Linked DNA regions of Homo sapiens: regions 1, 3, 4, 5, 6 and 7 are each linked to region 2. The links are contacts of gene promoters, found by promoter capture Hi-C in blood cells and fetal thymus (Javierre and others, 2016). All regions are on one chromosome and are shown on one strand. Each heading gives the region's core, a stretch centred on a gene start or on the middle of the fragment in contact. The rest is flanking DNA. Distances are from core to core; before and after follow the strand shown. Region 1 has its middle 24 kb from the start of MNS1. Region 2 holds the start of TCF12 (transcription factor 12). Region 3 overlaps LOC105370832 (a long non-coding RNA gene). Region 4 has its middle 8.2 kb from the start of MNS1. Region 5 overlaps LOC105370832 (a long non-coding RNA gene). Region 6 overlaps TCF12 (transcription factor 12). Region 7 overlaps MNS1 (meiosis specific nuclear structural 1).

What was found. The method cuts DNA at HindIII sites, captures the fragments that hold promoters and counts their contacts. A CHiCAGO score of 5 or more calls a contact.
Region 1: a fragment that was not itself captured here is called in contact with the fragment with the promoter of TCF12 in region 2 in 4 of 17 cell types (fetal thymus, endothelial precursors, M1 macrophages and 1 more); the score reaches 19.5 in fetal thymus.
Region 3: a fragment that was not itself captured here is called in contact with the fragment with the promoter of TCF12 in region 2 in 1 of 17 cell types (fetal thymus); the score reaches 5.9 in fetal thymus.
Region 4: a contact is called between a fragment that was not itself captured here and the fragment with the promoter of TCF12 in region 2, in 1 of 17 cell types (fetal thymus). The highest score is 8.0, in fetal thymus.
Region 5: a fragment that was not itself captured here is called in contact with the fragment with the promoter of TCF12 in region 2 in 1 of 17 cell types (fetal thymus); the score reaches 11.9 in fetal thymus.
Region 6: a fragment that was not itself captured here is called in contact with the fragment with the promoter of TCF12 in region 2 in 2 of 17 cell types (naive CD8 T cells and non-activated CD4 T cells); the score reaches 6.3 in naive CD8 T cells.
Region 7: a contact is called between a fragment that was not itself captured here and the fragment with the promoter of TCF12 in region 2, in 1 of 17 cell types (fetal thymus). The highest score is 7.5, in fetal thymus.

What each region holds. Positions count from the first base shown.
Region 1 is chr15:56,487,962-56,490,807 of GRCh38, forward strand. It overlaps a transcript of LOC105370832 not described here. Among named protein-coding and RNA genes, the nearest start is that of MNS1, 24 kb to the left of the region's middle. The HindIII fragment of the contact is 877 bases long and covers 1,076-1,952 here.
Region 2 is chr15:56,917,351-56,920,252 of GRCh38, forward strand. TCF12 (transcription factor 12) reads left to right here and starts at 1,294. Exons shown (of 21, transcript NM_207037.2): 1 at 1,294-1,556; 2 at 2,542-2,638. The coding sequence starts at 2,564. TCF12-DT (TCF12 divergent transcript) reads right to left here and starts at 1,149. Exons shown (of 4, transcript NR_015419.2): 1 at 190-1,149. RefSeq lists silencers at 454-593, 1,114-1,243, 1,414-1,463, 1,554-1,843, 1,894-2,333. The HindIII fragment of the contact is 11,533 bases long and covers 1-2,902 here.
Region 3 is chr15:56,519,246-56,521,945 of GRCh38, forward strand. All of the region lies in intron 1 of LOC105370832 (a long non-coding RNA gene), which reads right to left. Among named protein-coding and RNA genes, the nearest start is that of MNS1, 55 kb to the left of the region's middle. The HindIII fragment of the contact is 1,188 bases long and covers 835-2,022 here.
Region 4 is chr15:56,471,894-56,474,742 of GRCh38, forward strand. No RefSeq gene overlaps it. Among named protein-coding and RNA genes, the nearest start is that of MNS1, 8.2 kb to the left of the region's middle. The HindIII fragment of the contact is 370 bases long and covers 1,066-1,435 here.
Region 5 is chr15:56,537,040-56,539,739 of GRCh38, forward strand. All of the region lies in intron 1 of LOC105370832 (a long non-coding RNA gene), which reads right to left. Among named protein-coding and RNA genes, the nearest start is that of MNS1, 73 kb to the left of the region's middle. The HindIII fragment of the contact is 1,224 bases long and covers 795-2,018 here.
Region 6 is chr15:57,254,487-57,257,343 of GRCh38, forward strand. The region is part of intron 16 of TCF12 (transcription factor 12); the gene reads left to right. Among named protein-coding and RNA genes, the nearest start is that of SNORD13D, 23 kb to the right of the region's middle. The HindIII fragment of the contact is 4,849 bases long and covers 1-2,857 here.
Region 7 is chr15:56,451,374-56,454,073 of GRCh38, forward strand. The region is part of intron 3 of MNS1 (meiosis specific nuclear structural 1); the gene reads right to left. It also overlaps a transcript of TEX9 not described here. Among named protein-coding and RNA genes, the nearest start is that of MNS1, 12 kb to the right of the region's middle. The HindIII fragment of the contact is 1,229 bases long and covers 685-1,913 here.

The DNA.
Region 1 (2,846 bases), core at 264-2,763, 430 kb before region 2:
CTTGAGGAGAGGGCTGTAAGGGAATGACAGTGAAGTCAGGTGAAGCAGTTGGAAAGGTAGAGTTATAGAGCAGGTAAGGTTGAGCATAGTGGTGCTCTGTAGAGGTTATGGGAACTGATTGGGTTCAGAATGAATTTTAGAAATAAAACCAACAGGACTTGGCAATGGATTAGGTGTAAGGAATGACAAAGAGATGACTCAAATATATCTCCCAGGTGTCCTTCCTGGCATAACTGAATGAATGATGGTACCATCAGTTGGGATGGAGAACACTGGAGGAGTAGACTTGGAGGCCAGGGAAAAATAAAGACTTGTGTTTGGACGTGTTAAATCTGAGATGTCTACATCCTACTGAAGATCTTAAATAGGACACTTGTGTATATAAATCTATAGTTCAGAAGAGAAGCTGGGGCTAGAAGTATAGATCTACACATCAACTGATAAAGATGCTTTTGGAACCCATGGGACTAGGGATATCAAGGAGATCAAGGGTATAAGAGATCAAGGACTGAGCCCTGAGGAACTTCAATATTTACAGAAGTGGTTTACAACACTCCATGCCCATTGAAATTACCAGAAGATTTTTTTTTAAATGTTGAACCTCTACCCATCCTTCACATATCTGATTTAATTGGTCTGGGGTTCAGTTTGAGTATCAAGAAATTTTAAAACTCCTCAGTGATTCTAACGTGCAGCTAAGGTGGAAACCACTGATTAAAAACTGTTAATTGTAGCTGTTTGACAGGCTGAGGGGAGAATCACGTAAGCCCAGGAGGTCAAGGCTACAGTGAGCTATGTTCATACCTTACACTCCAGCCTAAGTGACAGAGCAAGACCCCATCTCTTAAAAAAATGGGAAGAGAAAGCTAAGCCAGAATTACTAGAATGAAAAGAGCCATCAGCAAGGTAGGAAGAAAACCAGGACAGTAGTATCCTGGAAGTTAAGTGAAGAGACTGTTCCAAGAATGGCATGATCAACTGTGTCAAATGCTAATGAGACATTAAGTAAAATGAGAGAGAGAGAGAGAGAGAGAGGGGAGAAGGACATGAGGGTGTGGGTGACTCAAATGTGAAAAGCTTTTATAGGATGTAGGGGTGAAGGCCTGCCCAGCACAGGCTAAAGGGAGTGGATAGTGAGAAGGCAGAGATTGCTGCTGTGTGCTGTGTCCCTTCTGCCCTGGGCCAGGGTCACTCAAATGCTAGGCTCACATCCAGCATCTCTGGCTGCTCCTTGTCCCGGGGCTTGGATGGCCAATGCCCCTCAAATAACACTATCTCAATTACTTATTCCAAAAGCCAGTCAACATTTATTCCACAGCTCATTGAATACATACTCAGCACATACATGTGCTAGTTATTGTTAGGTAGTGGGGATACAATGCCAAATAAGTTAGAGTTCTTGCTCTCATGAAACTGTCAATTCATTGAGGAAGAGGGTCACAAATAATCACAACAAAATAGCAATCTTGATTCTACTTCCCCAATGTTACTCTTCGTTCAACTCTTATTTCCACTCACCTAGTTTAGGCCTTGAAAATGAGTAATAATGTCCTAAGCAGCCTTCCTGTATCCAGTCTCTCCCTTCTTGCCAATCTAGTTTAAACCTTGCTGCCAAATTCCTCTTTCTGAAACACAACCCTGTTCATGTAATCTGTTAATTGAGGAAGCCTTCATTGAGCACCTACTAAGTACAAAAAAAATGCAAGGTCTTCCCTCCTATAATGTAGGGTCAATTTATGGCTCAAAAATCCCAATCATGTAATATCGATTAAGAAGTAAACTTAGCAGATATCTAGTCCCCACCAGAATCTCCTATATTAATCTCTCTATAAATGATAAATGGACAGCTGGATGGAGAATCCATTTTTTTAAAAGGAGCCAAATACATATTCAAGAAGCTGGAATTTTTACAATTTCTTCCTCCAGTCCCGCTTCCTGCTCAACAGAATACAAGCTTCTTCATTGCCATTCAAGACCTTCTGTAGGCCAGGCATGGTGGTTCACACCCATAATCTCAGTACTTTGAGAGGCCAAGGTGGGAGGATCGCTTGAGCCCAAGAGTTTGAGACCTGCCTGGACAACACAGTGAGACCTTGTCTCTACAATAAAATAAAATAAAAACTAGCTGGGCATTGTGGCATGCTCCTGTGGTCCCAGCTACTCGGGAGGCTGAGGTTGGAGGATTGCTTGAGCCCAGGAGTCAAGACTCCAGTGACCCACGATCATGGTACTGCACTCCAGCCTGGGTGACACAGCAAGACCCTGTCTCTTAAGAAACTAAAGTAAATGAGAAGCTGAGGCGGGAGAATTGCTTGAGCCCAGGAGTTTGAGAACAGCCTGGGCAACATGGTGACACTTCATCTCTGCAACAAATACAAAAATTAGCCTGTCATGGTGGTGTGCACCTGTAGTCCCAGCTACTCAGGAGGCTGAGGTGGAAGGGTCACCTGAGCCCAGGGAGTTTGAGGCTGCAGTGAGCCATGATCACACCACTGCACTCCAGCCTGGGCAACAGAGTGAGATCTTCTCTTAAATAAAAATAAAATAAAAAGACCTTCTGTAGTTTGACCCTAAGGCACTCATGTCTTAGTTTCTGATATTCTCCCTTTACAGTACCCTCCCTGGATGTGCTTTCACACCACCACACTTTCCCCTTATTCCACATAATCAAATATTACACATCCTTCAAAGCCAAGGTCAAGGTCCACCTTCTCCATAACACCATGCTGAGTCCCTCAGCTGACTCATTACCTCCCTCACCTGAGATCCCTCAGGCTTTACTTTTACCTTCCTTAGGGGTTTCTATCTTTGATGATTGGTGCACCTGTCCTTTTTTTCATGCCTCA
Region 2 (2,902 bases), core at 44-2,543:
TTCACATAGCATTTGCATTGTATTAGGTTTTATAAGTAATCTAGATATGATTTAAAGTATATGGGGAAACACACCATTTTTATGTAAGAGACTTGAACATCTTAGAAAATCCAGAGTCTGGGAACCAATCCCACGGATATAGAGACAACTGTACTAACTACAGTAATGGCATATGGTAGCTGAATCTACCTCTCTTTCCATCCCAGTCCGGAATCCAAAGGCTCCTTCTTGCCATGTTGTCCTCGGGCGTTGGCTGCTTCCTCCCATTTGTTACTTTGGAAGTGTCTTCTTTCCTCAGTGTTTCTTCTGCGTGGGCCTTACCGGTCTTTACTGCACTCACTTACCTAAGAGGCAAAACAATGGCTGCCATTCAAGAAAATCTCACTTCAGCCCAGAATCGAAGAACTGGGGCTTATTTTGTCTTCTTTCTACTCTGGGGCTTCTCTGAGGCCAAGTTCAGAACTTGTGCACAAGACAGTGGCTGTGTGACAGAGCCACCCAGGGCTGTCTCCGTTAGATGAAGAGACTGGCTTGATCCATTCCCAAGAACTAGTCCCACGTGCAGTTCGGTTGCTCCGAATGGGATTTGGGTGCGAGGGGCTGACTGGAGATGTGGGGTCTGGGTGAGTGGGGTATTTGAGAACCTGAAGCTCACAAGGCTTTGTCTGGTTTGAGGTACGTTTTGCCCTTTCTCCCGCATTCGGCTCTGCATCGAATCTGACCGGCCGCGCCTACTCTCGGAACGGCCGAGGAGGATGGGTCTCCCGTCTCCACACGCGCGGTGTCTGCGCCGACTGCAGCCCTCCTGGACGGGAGCCTCTGGGCCCAGCTTAGGGTGGCGTCCAGCGTGACCTACTCGGGAATGGCAGCCTTCAGTGTCCTGCGGCCTCGGGTTCCGGGAAGCTCGGGGACCTGGGCAGCGGATCCAGATGCTTCCACAGCTGTGTCTCCGTCGCTCCGCTTCGGGGGCCGAGAACCAGCAAGACCAACGCGAGGAGGCGCCACGGTACCTGCCACCCCGCTCCCAGGAGGCCCGGACGAGGCTTCGTCGGCGAGCGGTCGGGGCCTGCTTCTCGAGGTGCCTGCGAGCGCCTCATGCCCCTCCCCACCGGCCCCAACTCCGTCCCGCCTCACCCGACCGCGGGCTTTGTCCACCCGCCGCGGTGCGGCTCCTCCCAGTCCCCGACAGCTCCTCCCCGCCCCCTCTGCCGGCCCCACTTCCTAGGCGGCGGAGCGGGTCGGGGAGGGAAGGGTTAACCCGCGGCTCTTCCCGGCGCGGAGGGATCCGGAGGCGAGCCGAGCGCGGTGGTGAGGCCGCCTCAGCGAAAAAAATGTCCGCCTGAAGAGACCCACAAGTTCTATTCGGGGGGACCGACAGCCCGCCCCGGGAGGAAGGGGCGGCCAGGCCCGAAAGCCGCCTCCCCCTCCCAGACCCGAGAGCTCGTGCGGGGCAAAGTGAACCGAGCCGCTGGGCGGTGCAAGGGGAAGCCCAAGCCCGTTCTCCCGGCCAAAGTGAACTTTAATCGGGGTGGTTGGATGCGGAGACGGGGCGGCAGGTAATTGCGGGCTAGCGAGCGGGAGTGGGGCGGCGCGGCGGGGCTGGGGGCTGCGGGGCGCCGCCGCGTCCCTGCCGGAGTGGGGGCGCCCCCGTCCCCCGCCTCAACTCCGCGCCCCTTTGTACAGCGCGAAACCCGGGGTCCCCTCCAAGTTGGGGAGCGGAGTGGGGGCGGAGGCTCGAGTCGCGGGCGCTCAGGCCCGCTGGCGGCGCGCTCGGCCTGTGCGCCCCGTTCGGTGCCCGACTCGGGCCGGCGCCCAGGCTCCGGGGCGCGCGGGAGATCGGGCGGCTTCGGCCGCGGAGCCAGGCTCATTGTTCGGCAGGTCCGGGGCAGGGCAGCAAAAGTGGGAGGAGGCCGAGCCTGGGGAGGAGGACGCCGGCCGAGAGCGAGACTAGTTGTCGGGGTTTCTGTTTTCTGTTTAAAAACGCCCCTTGGATGAGCTGGGGGTGCTTTCCGACCTCCTGGGCCCGCCGGGGACGTCCGGGCGGCGGCGGCCGCAGACGCGGGCCTGCGAGCGGCGCGTTCCCTGCAACTTGTCAGTTCTATTGTTGCCGAGCGAGTGAGTCACTTCGCATCTCCGCTCGCCGCCGCTCCGCTCGCTGGACGCCGAATTGCCCCTCACCCCGCTCCTCGAGACCCCAGCCGCGGCCGGGCCCGGCGCGCGGAGCACCCGGCGGCGGCGCGGAGCAGGGGGCGCCGAGGAGGTGGCAGAGACTGGCTCGGAAACTTGGGGGAGAGGCGGCGAGTTGCGGGAGCCGCCGCGTCGATCTCGGGCCGCGGCGAGGAACGCGTGGATTCCGGGACCCGGCGCGGGCACTGAGCCCTCCCGCCCCTTGCTCGCGCCGCGGTGGGAGCGAGTCGGGGTCCTGGAAGTCATCCCGGCGCCCCCAGCGCTCTTGCGTAATCTTCCCCAGTACCTCTCTCTGTTCCCTCACACACTTTGGGCCTCGGTGGTCTCTCGCTGAGCCCGTTTCCTCTGCCCTAGGACCTGCTAGAAGTGGCCGAAGATGAATCCCCAGCAACAACGCATGGCCGCTATAGGGACCGACAAGGAGCTGAGCGACCTACTGGACTTCAGTGCGGTATGAGAGCTTTCCATGGCATCTTGGGGTTCTGCTGAGGTTTTTGTTTGTTTGTTTGTTTGTTTCTTTTAAATAAAGGGTGAGGGGAAGCAACGTGGAGACTAGGCAGCGTGAACTCCATCTGCTTTCTGCTTAAGCAGTAGTTCTCAGGGCTGGAGTCCAGCTCCCCCAAGTTGGACACCTGAACTTTGATGTAATGTCTAGACTTGCACATTTAAAACTTTAATGCCAGAGGGGTCATTTGATTTAACCAGTTAAAAGGAG
Region 3 (2,700 bases), core at 179-2,678, 400 kb before region 2:
AAGGGAAAGGAAAAGGGAAAGGATTCTATCCACATGAAAATAATTACAAAACTTAAAAGTGCCAACATCTCCAGATGAGAAGGAACCAGCATAAAAATTCTGGCACCATGAAAAAATCTGAATACTGTGACACTATTTGTTAATTTGAGATCTTTCTAGCTCTCCAGCAATGGTCACTAACCAAAATGGAAATTCAGAAATGACAAATAAAGAATTCACAGCATGGGTATCAAGGAAGCTCGATAAATTTCAAGACAAGGTTGAAAATCTACACAAAGAAACTTCTAAACAATCCAGGAAATGAAGGAAGAGATAAACATCTTTAAAAAATCAATCAGAGCTTCTGAACTTAAAAAATTCACATAAGGAATTTCTCAATACAATTGAAAACTTTATCAATAGAGTAGACCAAGTAGAAGAAAAAATTTCAGAGCTTGAAGATCAATCTGTCAAACTAATCCATTCAGAAAAAAAAAATAAGAATTTTAAAAAATAAACAAGTCTTTGAGAAAGGTAGGATTATATAAAGTGAAAAAATCTACAAATTATTGGCATTCCTGAGAAGGAGAAAAGGTAAACAACCTGGAAAACCTATTTGAGGGAATAATCCAAGAAAATTTCCCTAATCTTGCTAGACGGGTAGACATCCAGGTACAAGAAATACATATAATATCAGCAAGATACTATACAAAACAATCATCACCAAGGCATAAAGTGACAAGACTGCCCCAAGTCAACACTAAGGAAAAAATCCTAAGGGCAGCTAGAGAAAAAGGTTAGATGACCTACAAAGGGAGCCTCATCAGGATAACAACAGACTTCTTAGCAGAAGAAAGCTTACACAAGTCAGAAGAGATTGGGGGCCTACTCAGCATTCTTAAAGAACACAAATTCCAACCAAGAATTTTATATCCCATCAAACTAAGCTCCATAAACAAAGGAAAAATAAAATCTTTTCCAGACTAGCAGCTACTAAGGTAAATTTTTACCACTAGACCACCCTAACAAGAGATCCTCAAGGTTTTAAACATGGAAACTAAAGAACTGTATCTGCTACCACAAAAACACACTTAAGTACATAGTCCACAAACCCTATAAAGCAACTACACAATAGATACTGCAAAGCAACCAGCTAACAACTTCACAATAGGATGAAAACCTCACATAGCAATGCTAACTTTGAATGTAAATGGTCTAACTGCCCCATCAGAAAGGCACACAGTGGCAAGTTAAATTAAAAAAGAAAGCAAGATCCATCCATCTTCTATCTTCAAAAGGCCCATCTTACACTTAATGATATCCATGGGCACAGAGGAAAGGATTGGAGAAAGATCTATTACAACAAACAGGAAAAAAAAAGAACATGGTTTGCTATTCTTGTATCAGATAGACTTGAAATCAACAACAGTAAAAAAGGACAAAGAAAGGCATTACACAGTGATAAAAGGTTTAATTCAACAAAAAGATTTAATTATCCTAAATATATATGCACTTAATATTGGAGTACTCAGATTCATAAAACAAGTACTTCTAGACCTATGAAAAAACTTAGATATCCACACATTAATAGTGAGGGACTTCAACATCCCACTCAAAGTGTTAGATCATCAAGACATAAAATTAACAAAGAAATTCTGGACTTAAATCAATTTGGCCAATTGTACCTAATAGACATCTACAGACTACTTCACCCATCAACCATAGAATATACATTCTTATCTGTATGTGGAACATAATTTAAGATCAACCACATGCTTGGTCATAAACCAAGTCTCAACACATTTTTAAAAATTGAAATCATACCAACTTACCTTGGACCACAGTGGAATAAAAATAGAAATAAATACCAAGAAGATCCCTCAAAAACCACACAATTAAATGGAAATTAAACAACTTGCTCCTGAATGACTTTTGGGTAAACAACAACATTAAGGCAAAAATAGAAATCCTTTTAAGTAACTGAAAACAGAGACACAACATATCAGAATCTCTGGCATGTAGCAAAAGCAGTGTTAAGAGGAAAGCTTTTCACACTAAACACCTACATAAAGAAGTTAGATCTCACATTAACAATCTAACATCACATCTAGAGGAACTAGAAAAACTGGAGCAAACTAAGCCCAAAGCTAGCAGAAAATTTTTTTAAAAAGCTATAATCAGAGCAGAACTGAAGGAAATTGATATCCAAAAATTCATCCAAAGAATTAACAAAACTAAGAGTTTGTCTTTTGAAAGGATAAACGAGATCAATAGAATGCTAGCTAGATTAACAAAGAAAAAAGAGAGAAGATCCAAATAAGCACAATCAGAAACAACAAAGGTGACATTACAACCAATCCCACAGAAATGCAAAAGATCCCAGAGACTATTATTAACACTTCTATGCACATAAACTAGAAAATCTAGAGGAAACGGAAACACACAACCTGCCAAGATTGAATCAGGAAGAAACTGAAACTGCAAACAGATCGATATAGGGTTCCAAAATTGAATCCATCATAAAAAAAAATTGCCAACCAAAAAAAGCCCTGGGCCAGAGGGATTCATATCCAATTCTACCAGATGTACAGAGAACTGGTATCAATTCTACTGAAACTATTCCAATAAATCAAGGAGAAGGGACTCCTCCCTAACTTATTCTACAAAGCTAGCATCACCCTGATACCAAAACCTAGCAAAGACACAATGAAAAAAGAAAAC
Region 4 (2,849 bases), core at 1-2,500, 450 kb before region 2:
AGAAACCATTGCTAATCAGTCCCCACCAGCAGAATAAGATCCTAATTCCTACTCAAGTTATGTATATTTTTATCCCTCCTTGGCATCGACCAGGGCAATCGCCACACTCTGCATCAGTTAGCGTCCTCTGAGTTGCAAATGCTGGGATGGAATTGGATGGTCAAGAGGTTTATTTGGAGAAAGTCCTAAGAAAGCTAAAGAGGGAGGGGAAAAAGAGACCATAATATAGATCTAACTCATAAAAGCAGAGAGGAAAAGAAAAAGGAGCCTCAAGCAGCAGCACAATTCTGAGAGAGTTTCTACCAGGCTAATGGGAAGTCTCCAAGCAAAGACTTCCCATTAGATATGTCCCATGTTGTGTCAAAAGCCCTGGCTCTCATATCCTGGCATTGGCCAGGAGTACTTAGGGGATAGCATGGTCTCAGCATGGACGCAGCAGCAAATCTGAATGTGTAGCATCTGGAGGTTCAGGGAGGAGCACCTTCCTTGCAGCAGGTTCCCCTAAGGACAATTCTGAGCAGGGCACTTCCATGGCTGCCACACTGACATATGGCATACCACCATGCTTCCCACACTGATAGTGGCTCTCATTTCCTCTGATCTTCTCATACATCATATTTGTTATTATTGCTGCCTCACTGAGCTCTTCTCTAAAAATACTCTACATGCTAGATTTTCTGCCCACATCTTGGAATCAGACACATAGAATCCTTGAGGGATGGCATGGCCTGCAAGTACCACCTGGATTAGACATCACTCACACGGTCAAACTGCAATCCCTGTTTCCCAACATCCCACTTAAGGCAAAACACCTACTGCATCTCCTTCCCAGAGTTCGCCTGCTAAGTATGCAAATTAGGACACAGTTCTTCCCCACTCCCTTTTTACAACTGTTACTGCATAAAGAGTATGGAAAATGTTTCAAATTTTAAAAACTGAGGCTTGAAAACCCTTACAAGAAAACATTCGTGAGATGAATGTCCAGGTATTTTATAAAAGACTATAACAAAAGAACCATCTGTGTTCAAATAGTATGTCATGATCAGAAACACAGAAACTCATACAAGCTTTAAGGATGCAATACTGAATCAATTTATAGGGTACGGTGGCAAGAATAGACAGTATCTTTGACCTTGAACAAGTCATTTAACCTCCCTGATGTCTATTTCCTCTTCTATAAAATGAAGAGGATAGGGTAGAATATCCTTGAGGCCTCATGTAGCACTAACATTCTGTGAAATAAAAGTCAACTTAGAGATTAATTGGGTTTCTGAGCCTCAAGCAATTAATTACACTGTCGCTGCCCTTTAACAGACCTGTCATAGAAGAAAATTAGATTAAACTGACAGATTTTAATCTTCACCAACTCATGTTGATTTTAAGTCCAACATTATTTTTTAAGATTGCAAATTAATGCTTTCACAAAAGGTTCAAAAGCTTTCAGGCCAAGAAATTTGACCTGATAGACACATTGTAATACTTAAACCATTCTTTTCTATTTAAAAAAAGTTGTACTGACTTCCCCCCACCGCCCCCCTCCCCCCTAGTATTCAGAACCTCAGCAGGCACTCTGCTAGAGTTTTATGAAATGACAGTGGTTTTAGGAAGTTCTTCACCAATTTCTGAAATTCTCAAGGATATCTGTGATCAGGGAATTTAATTCTGCCCACGTCTACTTTATCTAATTCCATTATGTTCTCTTTATTTTTCTTTGGCTTTCTGCCTGCCTTCCCTTCCCTTGCCTTTACCTGTACTTGGGTCAACATTGAATTATTAATAGAAAGACATGTTGGTTTATTTTCTAGCAAATTTTTTAGTAAAAAAAAATCAGTTTGGATTTCCAGTTAATAGAGAAGTATCTCATCATATCCTCCCTTTTTTTTTTCTTTTTTTTTTTGAGATGGAGTTGTTGCCCAGGCTGGAGTGCAGTGGCGTGATCTAGGCTCACTGCAACCTCCACCTCCCAGGTCAAGTGATTCTCCTGCCTCAGCCTCCCGAGTAGCTGGGACTACAGGCACCTGCCACCATGCCCAGCTAATTTTTGTGTTTTTTGGTAGAGATGTGGTTTCACCATGTTGGCCAGGCTGGTCACGACCTCCTTACGACAAGTGATCTGCCTGCCTTGGCCTCCCAAAGTGCTGGGATTACAGGCATGAGCCACCATGCCCAGCCCATGCACTCCTTTTAATGCTTATGTATTTAAGCAGTACTGATATTTTCTATGTTTCTCTTAAATATTATAGTTCATATCTACTTTAGATTTAAAAATTAAATCTCAAAAGTTCTAGTTTATTGAACTTTGATTTCCAATATCCAGTTTCTACTTCTGTGTCATGTTTATTTGCACCAATAATATCTCTGACATACAGAAAGGTGAGAAGAATAATATAAACACCCATGTATCCATAATCTGACACAAGAAAAAATGTGGAACCTGGCTCTGTGCATCAGAGCACCTCTCCTGTCTCATTTCTTCCACCCAGAGATAACATTGTACTGTATTTAATAGTGTTTATCATTCTTGTGCATGCCTTTATACTTTCAACTTGTAAGAGATATGTGATACTATTTTGCATGCTGTAATAAGATGGAGTCATATTTCTGCAAATCTCTTTAGACACCATGTTTGTGAGAATATTCCACTGTAGTACATGTACATCTACTTTGTCTTTGACAAGCTATGACTTATATTTTTACTTTCTCTAAAATGTCTATTAATGCACAGAAACTTTAAATTTAATATAGTCAAATTTATCATTTTATGTTTTCTGCTTTTTGCCTTCAGTAATCATTTACTAATCTCAGATCATAAAGCTTTTCATAATACACCTTTAATTCACCTGGGATTT
Region 5 (2,700 bases), core at 157-2,656, 380 kb before region 2:
TTAAAAACTCTCTGGGCCAGGCATGGTGGTTCATGCCTGTAATCCTAGCATTTTGAGAGGCCAAGGCGGGCGAATCACTTGAGTTCAGAACTTTGAGACCAGCCTGGGCAACATGGCAAAGCCCCATCTCTACCAAAAAAAAAATACAAAAAATTACCAAGGTGCCGTGGTATGTGCCTGTAGTCCCAGCTACTTGGGAGGCTGAGGTGGGAGAATCATCTGAGCCTGGGAAGTCAAGGCCGCAGTGAGCCATGATTGTGCCACTGCACTCCAATGTAGATGTTAGAGTGAGACCCTTTCTCCAAAATAAAAATTAAATTAAAAAAAAATCTCTTTGCCATCCTATTTGAAAATCCCTACATATCTTTTACACCCAAGCTCAAAGATATTCTCTCCTATGACATCTTTCTTGGGCAGGTAAATCAGTTCCTCCATCGTGTTTCCAGGATATGTTTTACACATTTATTGCCTTATATTGGGATTGAGTGTTGCCTTCCCATTAAGATGAACTCCCAGAGAGGAGTGATGGCATTTAATCATCTATGAATCATCAAAGTTTAGTCCACAGTAGGTGCTCCATACATACTTAATTAACAAATGAATGAATGAATAAAGCATTGCAATTTTTAAGGGAAGAAGCAGATGAGGACTTAGCAGGTGAGAAAGTTCCAAACAAAGTGCTAATGAATACTCCAGCCACTTTCTTGCAGAAGTTCATCTTTCACTTCCAGGCATTTGATTCTCAACATTTCTGTCCTTTTCCAAATTAGAGCTGTAACCCAGGTAAGTGTCAAAGCTTAGAAAAACCATGGGAAAAACCTTGGGATCCTGATAAATTTGAAGACAAACTTAAACTTCAGTGAAGTGACAACATTGCCTGCTTAGGTTATTTCTTTATGCATTTAAGAGAGGTTTATCTCTCCAAACCCAGCTGTGGTTTGATCTCACACTTCCTTCACACTTGCTTCAACACCTGTTAACCACAACCATGAGGCTGCCGGGCCTGGCTTCATCTTGCTTTCTGGCTGTTGCTACAATGGTGTAACCGCGGCTCCGCAGCTGCTATGTTGGCAGTCACTCCAGGGGCTGGGGCCTGGCTTCTGCCTTTGGGGAGCTTTAACAGTCACACAGGTCTTGGTGCAATAGATGCTTCCCTTCTTCTGGCTCCCACAGCCTTTTGCTCATCTGTCCTTGCAAAGCCTATCATATTTCACTGTAGTTAGCTCATGTGTATCTATTGCCCTCACTGTGAGGAAAGGACCATGTCCTACTCATTTTTCTCTCACACTTACCAGTGCTGGCACTGGAAGGAAAGAATGAAAACTGAGTGACCACATGAATTAATGAAACATTCTCCTTAAAATTATTTGTTGGAACTTTAAATAAAACACTCATCATCCTATCAGTTATTACACCCCCCCCAAAATGATACTTCTGATTTAGTGTAATTGGTTGCTTTTTCCCTCCCCCTTCACCCTGGAAACAAGTAATCTTTCTTGATTATCAACATCTATTCCCTAATACAAAAATAGAAAAGAAAAACATGGACTTGTTATAAACCTACTGATGGCTTCCTCTCCGAGAGCTACCTTTGTACATCTCTAAATAATATTTAACAATATTTGATTTCCTCAACCTCTCAGATTAGTGTGTCTGAGACATTATGTGGACACTGTGCATACTGCTTATGTATCTGAGCATATCTAATTCCATTAATGGCATGAATATAATGATGCTCCATTTAAAAAATATTACATGCAATTTTTTCATTTGGAGAATGGAATGCTTCTGGCTTTTTGGGGTCTTGAGAATTAAGTATCTCTTTGGAATCTTCAGGAAATTAGGTAAAATACTGAAAGTTTATCATGCATTTTAGAAATAAGGATGCCAGGTTATTCTCCACTTGAATGATCTATTTTGACTCACCTAAATTTAACTCTTCATTTCCAAGTCAGATCAGAGAGTGCTCACGGGCATGGTAAGGTGGGAAGTGAGGGCTTCGGCTCAAACCAGACTTAAGCTTGCTGAGCATCTTGACCACATTAGTAAACTCTTTTCTCTTCAGGTCTGTGAAGCAGGGATAATATTACTGACTGCAGAGGGTTACTGTGAAAATTAAAAGACAACATTGCATGCATAACATTCTTAGCTGTATTTTGTGAAACAGCATTCCCTCTACTGAAGTTAGTATCCTTCCTTTCCTCATTTACTGGTCACCAACAATGCTTCTTTTCCCAACAGGGTGCACTGTAGTGTTGATACGCAAGTATCACTTCCTATAGAACGGGGAAGTTGAGGTGTGTGCATTATACAGTTACACAGTTGAAGCAAATGTTAAGAACAATTCCCCGGTATTTTGATATAACGCACTCTGGGACCTTCTGGTTCTTCTCTAGTGGCGGTGCCTTTATTCAGTCCAGAGACTTCTCCTCTTAGCCTCAGTCTCTGAGATTACTACTTCACCCACACTCCTTTTCTCCTCAACCTCCAGACCTCAGGAGCAGGTTCTTGTCTTTGCTTTTCTTCTCCACATTCCCGCCAGCTCAGCCAGCAGCCTCCCTGGGTTCTCCTCACAGAAAAACCTCCGGTTTTCGTAGTCCAGACTCCACTTCTCTGATCTGAGGCTGTTCCCCGGATCACACCCTGAGTGTCATTCTCCTTAGCTCTTCCCGAGCAAACACTCTTGTCCTCAGAATGTCA
Region 6 (2,857 bases), core at 358-2,857, 340 kb after region 2:
TGAAAATCAGTCTCCTTTTAAAGTACTTTTTATTGCTATTGATAAGCTAATAAGTGTCAAAACATATGTAAGTTATTAAACTAGTAAAATGGGGAAGTGTCAGATGGCTCACACCTGTAATCTCAGCACTTTGGGAGGCCAAGGCGGGAGGATTGGTTGGAGTTCCAAGACTAGTCTGGGCAACAAAGTGAGACCCTCATCTCTACAAAAAATAAAAAAAAATTAGTCTGGCACAGTGGCATGCGCCTGTGGTCCCAGCTACATGGAAGGTTTAGGTGGGAGGATCTCTTGATCCCAGGAGGTCAAGGCTGCAGTGAGCCATGTTCATGCTACTGCACTCCAGCCTAGGCCATAGAGCATGACCCTGTCTCAAAAAAAAAAAAAAAAAAAAGAAAGAAAGAAAAAAATATGAGAGGGTATTGTTATCACTGCTGGTAATAGTAATGAAATAATTTTAATGGTATAATAAAAGGAATTTGTTACAAATGTGAATGCAGAATAACTTAATAATTTGTTGAAATACTATTTATCCTTATTTAGAAGCATGACTTAAAAATCAATATTCTTGAATTTTAAGTTAGTCTCAGCAGCAACATTTGCAGTTCTTATTCCTTACCTCTTAATGATTTTTTAATTCTTCACTTTTACTAGCTTACTGCTCCTATTCCAACTTATCAGCTACAGTATTTATTATATATCTGGCTCCTCCCAGTTGGAGTTTGCATAAAATGGAACTTCTGTCTTGAGAAAGTTGTTTTTTTACCAATTTCAGATATTCCATAATAGAAAGGGAGACTTATCAAAATGTAGTCCTCCAAAGCCACCTAGAAACCTAGTGCATTTTAGAAGACTGTTAGAGGGAAAAACTCTTTCATTGGATGGCACCCTAAAACTTATAACTAAGAAAGTAGCTCCTACTATATGCTGAAGGAATGCACTGCCCACTTCAGAACAACAACAGAAGGTCTGCCAGAGGTATTTTTTTGTTGTTGTTTTTTGTTTTGTTTTGCTTTTAGAGATGGAGTCTCACTCTGTGGCCCAGGCTGGAGTGCAGTGCCGTGATCTCGGCTCACTGCAATCTCTGCCTCCCAGATTTAAGCAATTCTCCTGCCTCAGCCTCCCGAATAGCTGGGATTATAGGCACCCGCCACCACGTCCGGCTAATTTTTCTGTTTTTAGTAGAGATGGGGTTTCACCATATTGGCCAGGCTGGTCTCAAACTCCTGACCTTGTGATCCGCCCACCTCGGCCTCCCAAAGTGCTGGGATTACAGGTGTGAGCCACTGCACCCGGCCAGAGATATTCGTAAAAAGAAAAAAAAAATCTCAAATTAGTCTAGAAAAAATGGTCTTCTGAGACATGAAGTGAGTCTGGCTTAGTCTGAGCTGCAACATTAGTGCCACAGCAACTAGCCCAAGCTGTTGTTCAGTGTGTCTGTCACAGCCTTCTCTTCAGTCCTTATCACCTTCTCAGCGGGTACAGAGCTGTGGAAAATCTGCCAGAAATCATCTGCTATCTTCATCTCATCCAGACACAATCACTAGTACTTTTAGTAGTGGAGATAAGATGTATCTGGCAGGCTTAGCCTCAAAATATAAAGTTACTAGCTGACAAAATCTGACACTGTTAGGTGAGTCAGTATTCATCTCCTGTCCTTCTGAAGTAAGCCTTTTAGCTGTTGAGTCCTCAGTTCTCAGCTTCAGCAAAAAGACCAAAGGATGGAATGAAATGAAGATTAGTCTGCCACTGACTATCCCCGCAGAGTCTTAGGCATGTTATTGAGGAAGACTGTCTTATCGTGGTGGTTCTTTTCCGTGTCTGAGGGCTTCCATTAGTACTGCTGGGATCACTTTATTTACATGCTCAGCACCCACCTATATGGAATCAACTCTTCATATTCTTTCAGAGTGTGTGATTTTGGGGGCATGTTTTTGTAACTCTTGCCAACTGGCTCCAAGAGTTAATCTCCAGCTTTTATTGTCCCCTTGTCACAACAATACATCCTCCTAACTAATCATGACTAAGAAATAATGTGGTTTTACATTCTGGAATCGATTCCCCACCCCCACCCCCACCCCGCCCCACCTTGTTTTTGGTCTCTTATAACTTTCCAGAAGTTTGTCGATTTTTTCCGGAATTAACATAAGTTAGTATTTGTTTTGGGCTCCTAATAATGGAGGCTATATGGCCAGACTTACAAAGTGATCACAGAAATACTTGTTGATCAGCAATTTGGTACCACCATATAGAATTCATGAGGTCAGCTTCTTTCAAAGACATTTGCCTTTCATTATTCCATTTGTTTATTGCAGAGAATAGAAGTATTCTGATAAACGTAGATATTTTCAGGACCTCCACAGAGCATTCAGATGACATTTTTGTTATAATGGAACTTTATCCTAATGGGCAGCATCCTAATTGTAGGGTTTAAATATATCACTCTTCCTCCTAGCATTTAGAAAAGGGTTTGATATGCTTTTTCTATAAAGGGCCAGAGAGTAAATATTTTCAGCTTTGTAGGCTGTATAGTCTCTGTCACAACTACTTAACTCTGACAATGTAATGTGAAAGCAGCTATAGATAATATGAAAACAGATGGGCACGGCTGTATTCCAATAAAACTTTATTTACAAAAACAAGCTCCTTTATTTACAAAAACATAGGTCAAGATTTGGCTACAGGCCAGACCTTGGGAATTCCTGCTTATAAATTGGCACCTAAGCAGATATAATGGGGTTAGCATGTTTTTCTTTTTCTTGGAGCCTATAACGTTTGGCTTATGTTAATGAGTAGTTTGAGAGTTTTATTGAAGTAATTGGAATACTTGAGGCAAGCCAGGATCCACTGGTAGTGGAAG
Region 7 (2,700 bases), core at 49-2,548, 470 kb before region 2:
TTTACTACCATTTTTAGGCTTTTTCTTGTTTCAGCATTTGCTTGATTGCAATAAACCTTTGAATGCTACCCAAATTTCTTATAAAATTGGTTCTGAGAGTTTCTGCTTGTTTTCTGATGTTTGTAGTCGGGGGATGGGCTGGGAGGAGAGACAGGAGCTGGGAGCTGCCTACTCTGCTATTTTGCTAATATCAGTCCAATCCTGCAACTTTTAGTATGTGGTATTTTCATTATTATTCAGTTAAAAATACTTTCTAATTTCAATTTTGATTATAGACAGTCTCTGATTAATGATGGTTTGACTTTACAATGGTGAGAAAACCATATGCATTCACAGTAGGTTCCTCAATTCATGATGGGATGCATCCCAATAAACCTGTCGTAAATTGAAAATGTAGTTTATTGGGACATGAACCCATCGTACATCAAGGAGCATCTGTACTTTTTGACCAAAGGGTAATGTGAAGCACATTTTTAAATACCTAAGCATATAAAGATTGCCTAGATTTTTTTTTATTACTTACGTCTAGTTTAATTCCACTATGGACAGAGAAAATACTATGTATAAATTGATTCCTCTGAAAATCTGTTGATATTTTTATTCTGATACAACATTTCATCAATTTTGGCAAATGGTTCAAATATGTTTACTATAACTACTAATATAATTGGGTTTCCATTTACAAGCTTATATCTTCTTTCTACTTGTCTTCCCTGTCCTATGTTCTCTCTTCTCTCCTGTTTGCTTCTGTGTTGGGGGTTCCCAAGACCACCATCAGGTTAGATGATTCACTAGGAGGATACAGGACTCAGCATATAGTTATACTCACGGCTATGACTTACTATAAAGAAACGAAACACAGCAAAATTGGCAAAGGAAAAAGGCACATGGGTGAAATTCAGAGAAAACTAGGTGCAAAAGGCCTCTACCTGTGGAAACACACAGGACACGCTTAATTCCCCGAGCAATGAGTTGTGACGTGTGAAATGCCTGGCAGACAACATTAGAGCTCATCAGAACTCAGTGCTCTGGGTTCTTATTGGGGGTGGTAACTTAGGCACCCTCTACTTAGAACGTACCAATATTCCAGACTCCCAGAAAGAAAATGGGTATTCAGTATAATCCATATTGTTTTGTTTTCTTTTTTTCTTTTTTTTTTTTTTGAGACAGAGTCTCTCTCTGTCGCCCAGGCTGGAGTGCAGTGGCGCGATCTTGGCTCACTGCAAGCTCCGCCTCCCAGGTTCAAGCGATTATCCTGCCTCAGCCTCCCAAGTAGCTGGGACTACAGGCGTGTGCCACCAGGCCCGGCTAATTTTTTGTATTTTTAGTAGAGACGCGGTTTCACCGTGTTAGCCAGGATGGTCTCGATCTCCTGACCCTGCGATCCACTCACCTCGGCCTCCCAAAGTGCTGGGATTACAGGCATGAGCCACCGCACCCGGCCTAATCCATATTGTTTTCACATTTTAGCCACAGTGAATCATCCTCAGCAGTTAAGGTGGTAAGAACCTTCTCAAAAGCCTAGTTTCCAGAAACCAGCCAAAGACCAAACTTGCAAGGAGGACTTTCTAAGATAGCCTCAAGCCTGCTATGTTAACTCTTTTTTACATGAGTTTTTTGGAATAATCAATTCCTATTATCGTATTTTATTCTCTATTAGTCAGTTATATTTTCTTTTCCAAATTTTTATTACAGATATTACAGCATGTTTCTTTGTTTCCAGGTGAATAAATTTATTCATTATTATTTGACAATGCAAGATTCTTGACTTTAACTTCATTTACTTCCTATCTCATTTTGTCATATTTTTAACTCTTTACATATTTTAATTCCCAAAAGACATAATAAATATTTTATACATTCAAATATCAACTAAATTTACTATACATGTACCTCTTGCAGTTCTGAAATTAAGCTTGGGATCATTTTTCTTCTTCTATTAATACCTAATGAAGAACTGCTAGTATTCCCTTTAATGCAGGATTATTGGTGATCAATCTTCTGTTTTTGTTTCTCAGAAAATGTTATTTTGTGCTCTTTTAATCTATCTCATCTATTTTATGAATTAACAGCTTGATTATCAGTCCAGAACATAATTATACTGGTATAAGCTAGGTAATGGTAATAGTATTAAGAAGGAAAAACTGTCTCTGTCTTTTCTTTGAAATGGTTTTTGCTGAACTTAAATATAAATGAGATATGAGGTACTTGCTTTTGCTTTCATAACAGTATGTGTTAACTGTGTAATAAATACATTTAGTTAATTGGGCAATTAATTATAACTACTAATTGTTTAGTGCCATAATTTAAAATAGGATTTCTAAAAATAAACAGTGAGTTTCCCAACTCCAGTTAAAAACAGCAGCAAAGTTAAATTATCTTTTAAGTACTTTCTTGGATTACAAAACCATGTGTTCCAAAATCAATTAACAGGAGTCATGATTTCTGAGCTCAAAGAAATATTTTCAAAATAAACTTCAATGATTTTTTAAATGTGCCGTGCATTTAAAAAATTAATTTCTTTTACATTAAAAAAGCTAAATCTTAATATAGGTGATTTTAAATAAATTAGGACACATTTTAAGCACCAGAGCAGTTCCCTGAATTTAGACATGCCAATTTGAAATACAGTCCATTTCTGCATGACAGTGAAAATTTTAATATGGCTTGTGCACAAAATAAAAACACTCTTAGCAATTC